Linked DNA regions of Homo sapiens: region 2 is linked to region 1. Evidence: promoter capture Hi-C in human tissues and cell types (Jung and others, 2019). All regions are on one chromosome and are shown on one strand. Each heading gives the region's core, a stretch centred on a gene start or on the middle of the fragment in contact. The rest is flanking DNA. Distances are from core to core; before and after follow the strand shown.

Evidence for each region. The method cuts DNA at HindIII sites, captures the fragments that hold promoters and counts their contacts. A contact is called where the count stands out against the background at its distance.
Region 2: a fragment that was not itself captured here is called in contact with the fragment with the promoter of SERTAD4 in region 1 in 1 of the 25 tissues and cell types used here (mesendoderm cells).

What each region holds. Positions count from the first base shown.
Region 1 is chr1:210,228,641-210,236,040 of GRCh38, forward strand. It overlaps SERTAD4 (SERTA domain containing 4), which reads left to right and starts at 4,156. Exons shown (of 4, transcript NM_019605.5): 1 at 4,156-4,371. SERTAD4-AS1 (SERTAD4 antisense RNA 1) reads right to left here and starts at 5,245. Exons shown (of 2, transcript NR_024337.2): 1 at 4,995-5,245; 2 at 2,816-3,131. RefSeq lists an enhancer at 4,034-4,567. The HindIII fragment of the contact is 6,882 bases long and covers 1,253-7,400 here.
Region 2 is chr1:209,892,264-209,899,590 of GRCh38, forward strand. No RefSeq gene overlaps it. Among named protein-coding and RNA genes, the nearest start is that of SYT14, 42 kb to the right of the region's middle. RefSeq lists enhancers at 3,132-4,331, 6,229-6,756. The HindIII fragment of the contact is 5,591 bases long and covers 1-5,427 here.

The sequences.
Region 1 (7,400 bases), core at 2,906-5,405:
ATGAAAGCGTGGACCAGAATGGTGGTGGTAGAGATAATGAGAAGTGATCAGAGTCAAGAAATTTTTTTTTTTTTTTTTGAGATGGAGTCTCACTCTGTCACCCATGCTGGAGTGCAGTGGTGCGATCTTGGCTCACTGCAACTTCCGCCTCCCAGGTTCAAGAGATTCTCCTGACTCAGCCTCCCAAGTAGCTGGGACAACGGGTGCATGCCACCATGCCTGACTACTTTTTTTTTTGTACTTTTAATAGAGAGGGGGTTTCATGATGTTAGCCAGGATGGTCTCAATCTCCTGACCTCGTGATTCACCCCCCTCGGTCTCCCAAAGTGCTGGGATTACAGGCATGAGCAACCGCGCCTGGCCGAGTCAAGAAAAAATTTAAAGGTAGCCTCTCAAGGACTTTCTGATATATTAGATAAAGGAGATGAAGTAAAAAAAATCAATGATGACTCTAAGGAGTTTTGTCAGAGCAAGTAGAAAAATACTGTTGTTTATTGAAGGAGACTATTAAAGGTGGCATAGGTTGGGAAAGCAGAGATAATAGGGGTTGAGTTTTGGGTCTGTAAAGCTTGTGATACCCATTAGGCATCTACACAGAGTCTGGAAGTCAGAAGAGAGTCTTGGCTACAGATATGAATTTGGGAGTCATCAGAATATAGAGAGTTTTGAAGGGAAGAGACTAGATGAGATCCACAAGAGAGTGACTGTAGAGAAGAGACAAGGTGCAAGGACTGAGCTTGAGGCAACCCAACATCCAGAGGTCCTAGATAAGAGGGGGAACCAGCAAAGGAGACTGAGAGGAACAACCAGTGAGGCAGGAGGCAAATCAGGTGGATGTGTTGTCCCAGGAGCCAAGATAAAGGCGTTTAAAGGAGGAGGGAGTGGGCAACTGGGTCAAATGCTGCTTAAGGGTCAAGTTAGATGCAAAATGGCCTTTGGATTTAACAACGTGGAGGTCAGTGGTGACATTGACCAGAACAGTTTCAATGGAGTGATCGGATAAGAAAGCCTCAGTGGAAAAGGTTTGAGAATAGAAGAGGAATTGGGTGCAGATGCTTCTTTTTGCCATTAAAAAAATGTTTTTTTTTTTTTTATTGTTGCTGTTTGTTTTTTTGATGGATTCTTGCTCTGTTGCACCCAGGCTGGAGTGCAGTGGTGCGATCTTGGCTCACTGCAACCTCTGCCTCCTGGGTTCAAGCTATTCTCCTGCCTCAGCCTCCTGAGTAGCTGGATTACAGGCGCCTGCCACCATGCTCAGCTAATTTTTTGTATTTTTAGTAGAGGCGGGGTTTCGCCGTGTTGGTCAGGCTGGTCTCAAACTCCTGACCTCAGGTGATCCACCCGCCTTGGCCTCCCAAAGTGCTGGGATTATAGGCGTGAGCCACCGTACCCAGCCAAAAATGGTCTATTTTTTTAAGCCAGTAATTTTAACTTTCAATTAATCCAAGTGGGTATTGTGTCCACAACAATCTGAATAAGTCAAATTTTACTTGTGAAATCCCCCTATCAGACAAATGACAAAAAGGTTTTGTGAAATGGGTTTCAGCAATTTTAAGTCTGAAAGTCTCTTTGTTAAACAAAGGAAAACAACCACTGCCTTCAGTAAATTTGCAGCTCAAAGTATTATAAGTTTTATAATCAAACTTCTATTTGGAGCTTCTCACACACACACACACATACACACACACACACACCCCAAAATGATGACATCATAGTTGTCAATTAAATATTGTACCTCATTATAAATAACAATTACTCATTCCAAATTTTTCATTATTGATTTATAGTTGGTTCTTTTTTCATGCCATAGCTACCACATAGTCACCTTAAATTTGTAATGAGGTTTCTCATTCCATAGACATTTGTCTGCCTCTTGTACTTGTAGACACAGGTTCATGTTGTCAACAGTTGGGTATTGAATCTCAAAAAACATTAAGCTTAGGATTAAAGGTAGGGCAGGGAAAGCTGTCAGTAAAACATGCTAACCTAATGTATCTGATGAGGACAGGGTCTAGTTCATACTCAGAACTGCAAGGATGCTGTGAAGTACAATGATTTGATACTTGTGATACCATTTTGTTGTAACATTAAAGCCAAGAGTCTTCTCCACCCAAGGGCAATGCCAGTTTCCCAGAAGGCTCATTTCTCCGAGCCAAAGCTCCAAAGATGCCAGTGCACCCATGCTGATAACTTAGTCTCATGTTATTTCTCAATTTTATGCTTAATTTGCTCCTTTTGATTTTATGTATTTTCACACAGCCAAGTGTACATGGGGATTTACCCATAGTCCTTTAAATGCCATAAAACTTTAATATAGGGAGATAAAAACCATAATAAGCCATGCCTCCAAACCCTCACATTTAGTTCTTTTGAGTTTGACAATAACCAGTTTTAGATTATTTGGAAATTTGGATTTCTACGTACTTGCACTGCTTTAAATGCCCTTGTGCCTTTCCTAACCCTCCTCTCCCACCCAGATGAAAATTATACTCTACTCTTAACCTGGACATGCAACTTCCATTGACTGCACAAAATGGCATCTTTACAATTCTTAAATTATCATCATAATGGCCCACATCATGCATGAGCCAATGCAATTTAATATGGTTCAGAATAAAGCCAAGATGGATGCCCAATTCCCAATTTTAGGCATGCAACCCTGGAATGTCTTTTGGAAAAAATGAAATAATGCTCTTGGTAGGCTGTTGGGTTCATCTGTTTTAAGCATAATTGCCATCTCTCAGCTTCCTAATACCCTTAAAACCTCTGAGAGTCTTTAATGTACAAAGTTCAACAAAAACACCTTCAAAACAAATTAGTTCTAATTATGTTTAATATTGGTTTGCTGCTTTATTGAATAATCTACATTTGCTTTTAAAAAAAGGAAATTCACTTAACTGCATGTCAGTCACCCAAGTTTTAAGTGTACAAATGAAATGGAAAACATTTATTACACAAATTTAATTACAATTCTAAGAAATAAACATGCAAATTAGATAGAGTTCAATTTGCAGATGCTAATCCTCATCCTTGATCTTGTTCCTTCCTCCCTTGATTTTCAGTCTGTGCGTCTTCTTGATTCCTAGGGAGCCAGGCAGCCAGAGGTCTGGTTTTTCACAGTCGGAGGATCACTGTTTTAAAGAAGTGTTATATTTAGCACATCTGGTATAGTGGCAGTAAACAAACATTATAGTCTTTGTAACACTTTTGTGCAGGTGCCTTCTCCCGATTTTATTAGGTCTATGCCTTCCAAGCCTCTGCCTTCATTACACCTGAAATGACCCATCTCGACTATGGAGGGGTCCCTAGACAGAAGTTATGAATTAATGATTTTAAAAAATAAACTCTGAGGCCACTATAGGAGAAAATTACTATTTGCAAAATATTCTGATTCCAAGGCTTAAATTACATTCTCTTGAGCAAGGACAATCTCTTGTATTACTTTTTATTTCCTGGAGGTTTTCCCTGGAGGCTCCCCACCCAGAAAGGGTTGCCAATTCAAGTTGCAGCAGGACCAAGGTTGCTTTTTTTTTTTTTTTTAATACGTACGCAGCTCAGGAGGGAAACGGGCGGGGGCGGGCGGCGAGGGAGAATAACTGTTTGGTCCTGCAAAGACATCTGTTTCTCATCTCCGTTTGCTGTGGCAAAGGAGAAGAAAGTCTTTTGCAAAGGGTGGGAAAGGCACAGATTTTTTTTTTAATCACACGCACACACAACAACAACAAAACTAAACCAAATTTAAAAAGACAAGATATCTCGGAAGGTTCCAGAGTGAATACATTATTCGGCTGGAGCCAAGCCCCCAGGGCTAGGGCGGGAGCCCGAGAGCGCGTGGGGTCTGGGCTGCGGGCTGGAGCTGGGCCCGCGTGTCCCCGGGCACCGGGAGGGGAGGGGAGGAAAAGGAGGAGGGAGGGCGGGAAGCAGGGAAGGAGGCAGGGGGCGGGCTGGGGTGGGGGTGCGGGAAAGGCGCCCCGTGTGCAGCCTGAGGAGCGGCGGCGGCGGCCTGAGCAGAGGGAGGGAGGGAGAGCGGGCGCGCTTGTCATGTTCCCTCTCTCACCCTGGGGGCATCCTGCAGAACCTCTCCTCGGAAATCCACGGGGAAATGGCAAACAGGATTGACGGGTTTCACACGCTCCTCGCTAGACAGAGCCGCTCATTACCATAACCGTCTGCAGCGACGGCGGCGCAGCGCCCCAGTCGCGGCGGCGGGACCTGCCGGGACCCTTGCCCGCCGCGCACCCGCAGTCACCGCCGAGCGGGCGGCCGGGCCGGGACCCGCGAGTGTGCACCGGCGGCCGGGCTGGCGCCGAGCCCAGAGCGGACCAGCAGCAGCTCAAGCGCTGCGGCCGCCGCCTCCCCGCTGACCCCGCGGTAAGAGCCGGGCTGGGCGCGGGCCGCGGGGGCGGGAGGGCCGGGCAGGGTGGAGGGCGAGGGCCCCCCGGGGCTCCTGCCCTCGCAGACGGGCACCCACGCGGCCTCCCGCGCGCCCTCTTGGCACCAGGGCTGTGCCGAGGTCACCGAGTGGACTCGCAGCGGCCGGAGCGGAGTCGGGGCGGCGTGGGGGCCAAGGCACAGCTGGGCGCGGAGGCGGCGCGGGCTTTTCCCTGGGCTAGCGTGCGCCGCGGCGCCTTCACCAGGGCGGGAACCGCCGCCTCCTCTAGGGCTGCTCGGGCTGCCACCCGCGCGCACCGAGACAACTCCAGGGGCGGGTGGGGTCAGAAGCTCTGGTGAGACCTCATGGTCCTCCGTGGCCGCTTAGTCCCTCATCGTAGGGGAAGGGGTTAAGTAGGAGGGGTGCCCCCAGGTCCGGATGCCGCGGCGCTTGGCAGGTGGGGAGAGAGGGATTGTGGATGTCAGGAGCGCGCGTTTGCAAGAAAAAGGAATTGATGCAGTAGCTGACACCTTCTGTCCCCCGCCACCTCCGCCCCCGCACCCTCCTCCCAGGCAGCAGAGCTGCGCTGCGGGCGGCGGCGGCTCCTCTGTCCTCAGCTCACCTCCTCGGCGGGCTGAGGCTGCTGCCCGCCTGGTCCACGCCTCCGCCTCTCGCTTCCCTTCCTCCCCTCCCGCCTCTTCGGCCCTAGCAACTTTCCGAGTGCCCAGCTGTGGTCGCAGAAGCAGGGAATAGGCGTCCTCGCCGCCAGGTCCCACGGGCGCAGGGCGCTCCCGCAACCGCGGGCTTCCAGCGGGTTTGGCCGGCAAGGGAGGGAGGGAAGGCCGGGCCGACATCTGCTGCGGGCTGGAGCGCGGGGGCCCGGGCCAGCCCCGCCAGAGCCCTGCCAGCCGCTGTGAGTCATTTCCTTGGAATCCTACCTTTGGTGTTTATTTCCCTTAGAAGGAAACTTGGTTTTTTTTTTAAAAAAAAAAAAGGATAAGACATAAAGAATAATAATAGCTCTTATTCTTCAGAAGAGGCACACGGCTGCGGCACCGTAGAAAGACAACTTGCCTTTGTTCCCGGACACTTGGGGTGTTGTTTACTTTCTCCTGCGGCCAGCGGCCGACCGGGCGCTGCTGGCTACCCGGGGAGGGGCTGAGGGCTGCGGCACCGACACCCCGGGGGTGTGTCTGTGCGGGAGCCAGGATGTGGTTGGTGGCTGCCGCCCGCCTTCAAGAGGTCGGCCCTCCAAACCTCGGACCCCACCCCCGCAACCGCCACACACACACACACCTTGGGCACCAGGGCTCGGGCATCGGAGCACCCCTTCGTGCTCTTTAGGCCCAGCACCTGCAGCCCCAACCACAGGACCCAGCTTCAAGCTCTTGGCCTCGCGGGGCTGCAGCTGAGAAATGTACTTCCCAGGGCAGACAGGTGTACTGCAGGAACGGCAGAAAAGCGACATCTGTTTGTTTAGAAGGGTTGAAGAATTTTGTTCCGCCCATCCAGTCCCTTCCACTACCACCACCAGGAGCCGGACAAGCTATTGAGATCATTTTGGGACAATGTGGAGGTCAGGGGCTTGATGCCATTTAAAACTGGCAGCATCGATCGGGGGTGGAAATAGCCCTTTACTTCCCTGCTTTCCAGTGCTGGAATCAGACTGCTAACTGCTATAATGATCTTAATCAAATGCTCTCCAATTTTCAATGACAGATGGAAGAAGAAGTGAGCAAAGAATGACCTGGAGCCCCTTGTTAGATTCAAGGTGCCGCTGAATTCATAGCTACCCTGTTTTGTGTGCCAGCCACTCCTATTAGCATCATAATTGCTTCTAGGAAAGAACAAGCCCAACTCATCTGGAAAAAAACAAATTGTATAGAAATGCCTGGTAACTTTACTACGAACATTTGCTGGAAAAGCTTGGCATTCTAGCCCTCAGTCTTCTGGGGATGCTGGAAGTGTCATTCCACTACATCCACCTGGGTGTCAAAACAGACATTCAGGAGCCTGAGGATGAAGGGTTAGGGCTTTTTTTTTTCTTATCTTTTAAACCCATGCATAGACAAAACACACTCTAACACCCTCCTGTTGAATCCATCACCTCTGATCTTAGAAAATAAATTTTGCCATAATGTATATCCTTTTCTTTATTTAATATTAATAGAACACGAATTTGTGGACTTGAATTGCTGACGTCAGTAGCAGAATTATAAATCTTATCAGACAGAGAATTATGACAGTTTAGATCTCTACATATAATACGAAGAAAGATTCACGTTAAGCATTTGTGCTTAACGCTGCCCTGTCCAATTTTTCGTGAACATTCAACTTGCCTTCTTAATTTGTTAACATCCAGTGTAAGTTTTAAATAGACTAGGAAGACTCAATTGCAAAATCTCCTCCCCGCTCCCAAATAATCCCAACTCATTCATGTTTTATTCAGATTTACATAAATCACTTGCAGAACTCAGCCTCTCTAGTTTAGGGTTTTGTGTGTAACAGTTCTCAATTTAAAAAAGAAAAACTTAGTAAAATTAGATATTGTGAACAAAATAATAGCCAAGATAAATACTGTTATGCCATGTTTCAAGTTCACGTGCATAATAGGATATGCTGGAAATAATGCTAACAAATAGAAACGCTGAAATTCCTCACAACCAAAAAAGGTACTACCAAAAAGTTATTAAAATATAAACAAACTCTGACAAACATAAAACAGCACAGGGCCCATATAATGTCCTGTTAAACAAAAGTAATTGCTGCCAGGAGCCTGCAAATGTTTTTCTTTCTTAAGGGGCATGAGTTTGACAACCTGCTTTTGTTTACATGAAATAAAAGTCTGCATAGGCAAAAGGCTTGCATCTTATTCCCATGATCTAACACAAAAGTGAGTGTAAACTTCAAACTAGAAAATGTTGATTCTCTCAATAAGAAAGGGCTGCTGACTGTTGAAAAGCTGTAATTCATGTGCTCTTGGCAATAGTATTTCCTGATATGATTGTCTCTTAGAATAGGTGAAGAA
Region 2 (7,327 bases), core at 1,382-3,881, 340 kb before region 1:
CCAGGTTACTTATAATACTTAATACAATGTAAATGCTATGTAAGTAGTTGTTTTTAGGGAATAATGACAAAGAAAAATGGTCTGTACATGTTTGGTACAGATGCAATATCTTTTTCCAAATTATTTTCTACCTGTGGTTGATTGAATCCATGGATACAGAACTCACGGATATGGAAGGCCAACTGTACTTTAATGCAATTAAGCAAATTATCTAACCTCTTTTTTTTTTTTTTTTTTTTTAAGAATCCTACTCTGACAGCTTTAATGAGTAGACCTACAAAGGGATTATGCTTATGATAACTTTTCTACATCAGCCAACAAAACAAAATAATAAAAACAACAACAAAAACTGTTCACACTGGATCTATAAGATGCCAAAGCACATGAATAAAAAATAGACTTAATCATTATCAGTCTTGTTCACTGCCATTTGCCCAGCTCTTGGAACAGAGCCTGGCCCAAAGTAGGTGCTCATTAAACATAGTGTTTGCTGAATGAATGGATGTACAGCACTAATTACAGCCCTTTAGTTAACTATTCATCAAGTGCTCCCTGCACACAGTGGACTTGTGCTGAGTATAGTGAAGGAAGATTCATTGTGCTGGTTGATTTTATGTGTCAACCCAGCTAGGCTATGGTACCCAGTTGTTTGGTCAAACACTAGTCTATATGTTGCTGTGAAGGTATTTTTTAGATGTGATAACACTTAGATAAGTAAAGTTTGAGTTAAGCAGATTGCCCTCCATAATGTGGGTGGGTCTCATCCAATCAATTGAAGATTTTAAGAGAAAAGACTCAAAGCGGGTGGATCACTTGAGGTCAGGAGTTCAAGACCAGCCTGGCCAACATGGCAAAACCCTGTCTATACTAAAAAAAAACAAAAACAAAAATGAGCCGGGTGTGGTGGCACATGTCTGTAGTCCCAGCTACTCAGAAGGGTGAGGCAGGAGAATCACTTGAACCCAGGAGGCAGAGGTTGCAATGAGCCAAGATTGCACCACTGCACTCCAGCCTGGGTGACAAAGCGAGACTGTCTCAAAAAATAAATTAAAAAAAAAAAAAAGAAAAAAGACTGAGGTTCCCTGAGGAAGAAGAAATTCTGCCTTCAGATTTCTTTCAGACTCAAAACTGCAATATCAACCCTTCCATGGGTCTGTGGTATTCTGGGAACAGGGAAAAGAACAGCCCAACTAAAGAATCCCAAAGGTAGAGAAACATGCTGTTATGGAACCTGGAGCTAGGTTGCAGAGAGCCCTGATAAGCATAGAACATAGGCTGCAAAAGCCTTAAAGATTCATCTTTTAAATAAACAGCATTAAGTACTTCTCTTTCTTGGGCAGGCTAGAGTTCCTATCATCTTGCCCAGGCCTCTCATCTTGTAACAAGAAGCTGAGACCCAGGGCGAGTGTCCTTGGGTCACAGGGGAAATCTTTGCAGGAGAATGCAATCTTCTACTGCCTCAGCCAGCACTCTGGCTACCACATTTTCCTGCTTCCTGCGTCTCCAAACTCATCTGCCCGCTCCCGCGTTGCTTACTGCAACTCAACCACACTGGTTCTCTTGCTGCTCCTCAAATGCTCTAAGTTTGTTCCCACTTCAGAACCATTACACTTGTTCCCTCTGCCCAAAAGCCAAAAGGACCTTGCCTTGGGTTTTCACACACTGGAGCTTCTTGTCTCTGATCTCAGCTCAGCTGTTGTCTTCTCAGAAAAGTCTTCCCTGACCACAGGCTTGAATGGTGCCTCATCCACATCTGTCCCATTGCCCTGATTTACTTTACTTTTTTTTTTTTTTGAAATTTTTTTTGAGACAGGGTCCCACTCTGTCGCCCAGGCTGGAGTGCAGTGGCACAATCTCAGCTCACTGCAGCCTCCCTTTCCCGGCTTCCTGGGTTCAAGTGATTTTCATGCCTCAGTCTCCTGAGTAGCTGGGACTATAGGCATGTGCCACCACGCCCGGCTAATTTTTGTGTTTTTAGTAGAAACGGGGTTTTGCCATGTTGGCCAGGCTGGTCTTGAATTCCTGAGCTCAAGCAATCCACCTGCCTCGGACTCCCAAAGTGCTGGGACTACAGGTGTGAGCCCCGCATCCAGGCTACTTTCTCTATTGTACTAATCAATGTCTAGAATTACTATTATTTACCTCTCTATTGTTTGTTTCCCCAAATAGAATATAAATTCCCTGAGAGTAGAATTTGTTCCCTAATGTGATTTGCTCATTGCTTTAACCCCAGCACCTTGAATAATGTACATATTAGGTACTCTATAATTATGAATCGAATTAATGAGTGTTGAATACAGATCTCAGCTCTTGCAAAGTGGTTTAAAGGGGAAAAGAGATCAAGAGAAGCAAAGAGGCATTTTAATGAGGTAAGCGGAGAAGCCGCCAGCAATCACCTCTGGTCCCACAGCAATGCCCTTTCCCTTCTTCCATTTTTTTTTCAAAGCAGATGCCTCTAGATGGAATTGTTAAGGTCACAGTTCTTGCTGGATAAAAATCACAAATCGTGCTGACTTCAGCTCACCATTAAAATTCCCCACAATGCCAGTTTCAAAACAAAGTGCTCTCCGAAAGATGAAACCTTATGTGTTCCTCCCTTAACGTTCCCCTCTTAACCGCGCATCATATGAAGCCTGTCAGCTTCCCTGGACTCACTGTGCTTTATCACTAATCCTTCACTTTTCCCTTTCTGCCTCAAAGGAGGATGCTCCCCGCTTCTCTTACTGAACCAAACATGGATTTGCTTATGCTGTGCAGTAAAGCTAAACATCCACCCTGAGGTTTTGCAGCAAAAGAAAGGAGGATGTTTATTTGCAGGGCCCCAAACAAGGAGAATCTGGCAGTTTACACTTCAGACCTGACCTACTTGATGGCTTACAAGCAAGGCTTTTTGTTGTTGTTGTTTTGTTGTTGTTTGTTTGTTTGTTTGTTTTGAGACAGGGTCTCACTCTGTCATCCACGTTCAGCGTGTGCAGTAGTGTGATCTCAGCTCACTGCAACCTCCACCTCCCAGGCTCAAGCGATTCTCCTGCCTCAGCCTCCAGAGTAGCTGGGATTACAGGCATGCACCACTATCGCCCGACTAATTTTGTATTTTTAGTAGAAATGGAAACCGGTTTCACCATGTTGTTCAGGCTGGTCTTGAACTCCTGGGCTTAAGCGACCCTCCCACCTTGGCCTCCCGAAGTGCTGGGATTACAGGTATGAGCCACCGTGCCCAGCCTCAAGCAAGGTTTTTTCAAAGGCTGAGATAAATTTCAGGAAATCAGAAATCACAAGCAAAATGGTAAATCAATACATGGAGGTTATATATTGGTTTGGCCTAAAAAGGTGGTATATCTCGAATTGGGGCTTTACAGGTCACAGGTGGATTCAAAGACTCTCTGGTTTGCAATTCACTAAGGAAGCAAAGCTTTGTCTAAACATTTGGGGTTGGAAGAAAAGAATGTTAAGATCTAGCATGTGGGCATGACTTTCTCCAGGGCCCTCAGGAAGAAATTTAGAACAAAGAATGATAGAGTTCAGTCCTCAGTTCTCCCGTTTGAGGTCTACATGCCAGCAGACAGTATTTTCCATTTGGTGGGGTGCGGGGGAAGGTAGGGGCGGGTCCAGGTTTCTGAAAAACAACTCAGGGACGAGGTATGTTAAGATGTTATCTTTAGTTTCTCTAGAGAACCAAACATCCTGTGACTCTAACTTTCTTGGCTATTGTTTTAAGCTATTAGATTACTCATTTATTTCTCAAGGCTAGCTAGGTGCCTGGAATTTCCCTTGAAGAAACTCAAGATTTTCCTTTATTCCCATGCTTGGGTTGGGGGTGGGAAGGCAGGATCCTAAAAGGGGTCCCTGCTCTGTCTCACTTCCATTTCAGGATTTTCTTCTTTACTTGTTCTCTGAACCCCTTCCCAACTGATCTTCCTCCTGCCTCAGATCCACATTTCACATTGCCACCCAAGGATCTTCAATAACCACTTATATGAATATTGCTCTCTTACTCGGATACCTTCACTGGCTCCTCAAACTCACATTATTGAGCATGGTACTCAAGGCCCTCCCCAAGGACAAAGACCAGCTTACCCTCTTCACCCTTATTTCTACGTGCCCTAGCATTAAACTGACGTCAAAGCATATAGGATATAACTAACTACCTGCAATTTTAATGCAATGGAGCTGTTGGCTTGTAGCTATGACAGGAAAAGACATTTGACCACAGGGTATGCAGGGTATCTGGTGCAAAGGCATTCTGGCAGAGCAAACCCAACACATCAGTTTTACTGTTTCCCATGACTTGCGAATCCACCCTGGAGAGGATTTGAATCAGTTGACTTCTTCCTCTAAAACCTTCCTAGCTGCATGGCTGTTTGTGTGTGTGTGACTGCATTATTGAGTACACAAGCCTTTTGAATCAGGGATCTCAGATTTTAGAACTGTCAATTATTTCACATCATCCTAAACCTCTCTTCCCTTCCATTAGCGTGGATAATTGGAAGCTGATGAGGGTTAGCATTACACAAGGAGATAAATTCATTCAACAAACATTCAGCAAACACTCATTAAGTACCTAATGTATGCCACCTTGAGATACAGTGTAGAAGAGGACACAACCATGTAAGCATCATTACTTCAGAAGAAGAAATGCTATAATAAAGGTATGTTCAATATTAGGTGTACTGAGGGAACATAGAGACAGTGCTTCTCTAACAATCTAAAGAGGACAGGGAAGGCTTTGGGGAGAAGGTGACAAGACGTGGAGGATGTGAATCTGAGGCAAGGATAGAAGGAGAAGTAAATTTGCCAGACTTCACCCCCATACCATCAGTATAATTTGAGAAATATTTTTAAACATCATGACTGTACAGATTTTTTTAGTGGCATTATTTGGGCCATACTGAGTGATTGCTGCATGCATTTCTACTCCTTTGACCTACTTTTTCATAAGTGTCAACAGAGGCTTGCAAACAACCACTAAAATAGTGTTCACAATGTATCAGGACGGAGTTTTGAATTAGAGGCGTCCATGCTGTGCTGAAGCTGGTGGTCTTGTGAGCAGAAACACTTTGCTAAGGTTGTAAGAGAGAAGCGAAGGAAGCATAGCAGGGCAAGAGGAGGAAAGAGACAGAGCAAGCCTAAAGCTAAAGAGTTGTGAGGGGTGGAGCCCGGGTCATTCAGGGATTTTTTTAAAGTGGGTTGCTCACAATGTTTCTGGAAGAGCGTACAACTTAGCGGACAGAACCCATATGACTTGTAAATTACAAGGCAGTCATTACATAGCCAAGCTACAGGAAGGGCGCCTTCTGTTAGAGTGGCTACGTAACTCTCGATTTCAAAATGCCTATTGGTTCATTTGCAGGACTCGGCAAAAAATAAGCACAAGAGTACATCAAACTTAGCATTTTGGATCAAGCCAATTTTGTTGCCAAAGGACACTTCATGAGATCAGTAGTAGCTGCCTCTATGTTGATCATCTAAAGTCATAGAGGTACCATATTCTCAACTTCTTCCTATGAATTTCAGTTTTTAAATTACTGAGTCAAAAGCAGTAAGCATTTAAATCACTTTTGATAACTAGCCTATATAGTGTTTATCAAAAGAGCTGTATTAATTTACTGTACCACCAACAGGGTACATGTATACCAGATTCACCACGATCTGTCATACATTTAGCAAAAGTAAGTTAGTGAGTTAACAATTTATGATTTAGTATATTTACAACTGTGTCCGGAATTGATGGGTTCTTGGTCTCACAGACTTCAAGAATGAAGCCGTGGACCCTCGCGGTGAGTGTTACAGCTCTTAAGGTGGCGCGTCTGGAGTCTGTCCCTTCTGATGTTCAGATGTGTTCGGAGTTTCTTCCTTCTGGTGGGTTCAGTGGTCTTGCTGGCTCAGAAGTGAAGCTGCAGACCTTTGCGGTGAGTGTTACAGCTCTTAAGGCAGGGTGTCTGGAGTTGTTCGTTCCTCCTGGTGGGTTCGTGGTCTCGCTGGGTTCAGGAGTGAAGCTGCAGATCTTCGCGATGAGTGTTACAGCTCATAAAAGCAACGTGGACCCAAAGAGTGAGCAGTAGCAAGATTTATTGCAAAGGGCAAAAGAACACAGCTTCCACAGTGTGGAAGGGGACCCCAGCGGGTTGCCAATGCTGGCTCGGTCAGCCTGCTTTTATTCTCTTATCTGGCCCCACCCACATCCTGCTGATTGGTAGAGCTGAGTGGCCTGTTTTGTCAGGCTGCTGACTGGTGCTTTTACAATCCCTGAGCTAGATACAAAGGTTCTCCACCTCCCCATCAGATTAGTTAGATACAGAGTTTTGACACACACGTTCTCCAGGGCCCCACCAGAGCAGCTAGATACAGAGTATTGATTGGTGCACTCACAAACCTTGAGCTAAACACAGGGTGCTGATTGGTGTATTTACAATCCCTGAGCTAGATATAAAGACTCTCCACGTCCCCACCAGACTCAGGAGCCCAGCTGGCTTCACCTAGTGGATCCCGCACCGGGGCTGCAGGTGGACTGCCTGCCAGTCCTGCGCCGTGCGCTCGCATTCCTCAGCCCTTGGGTGGTCGATGGGACTGGGCACCGTGGAGCAGGGGTTGGTGCTCGTCGGGGAGGCTGGGGCCGCACAGGAGCCCATGGAGTGGGTGGGAGGCTCAGGCATGGTGGGCTGCAGGTCCCAAGCCCTGCCCCACGGGAAGGCAGCTAAGGCCCGGTAAGAAATCGAGCACAGCGCTGGTGGGCCGGCACTGCTGGGGGACTCAGTACACCCTCCGCAGCCACTGGCCCGGATGCTAAGTCCCGCATTGCCCGGGGCCAGCAAGGCTGGCTGGCTGCTCCGAGTGTGGAGCCCACCAAGCCCACGCCCACCCGGAACTCCAGCTGGCCTGCAAGCGCCGCACGCAGCCCGGGTTCCCGCTCGTGCCTCTCCCTCCACACCTCCCTGCAAGCTGAGGGAGTGGGCTCCAGCCTTGGCCAGCCCAGAAAGGGGCTCCCACAGTGCAGTGGGGGGGCTGAAGGGCTCCTCAAATGCCGCCAAAGTGGGAGCCCAGGCAGGGGAGGTGCCGAGAGCAAGCGAGGGCTCTGAGGACTGCCAGCACGCTGTCACCTCTCAAAACAGTACCTTAACAATGGTTTAACGTGCATTCAACAAACATCCAGGAAACAATTATTAAGCACTTAATGTACTTTGATTACTGGAGTTATCTTTTTAGGCTGGCCCAAAGCCACTAGAAAGGTCCATTTGAATCAGGCATCATTGCTGATTTGATGATTTCTCCCTTTCCTTCATCCGCCATAGGAATCAACATATATATATATGTGTGTGTATGTATACAT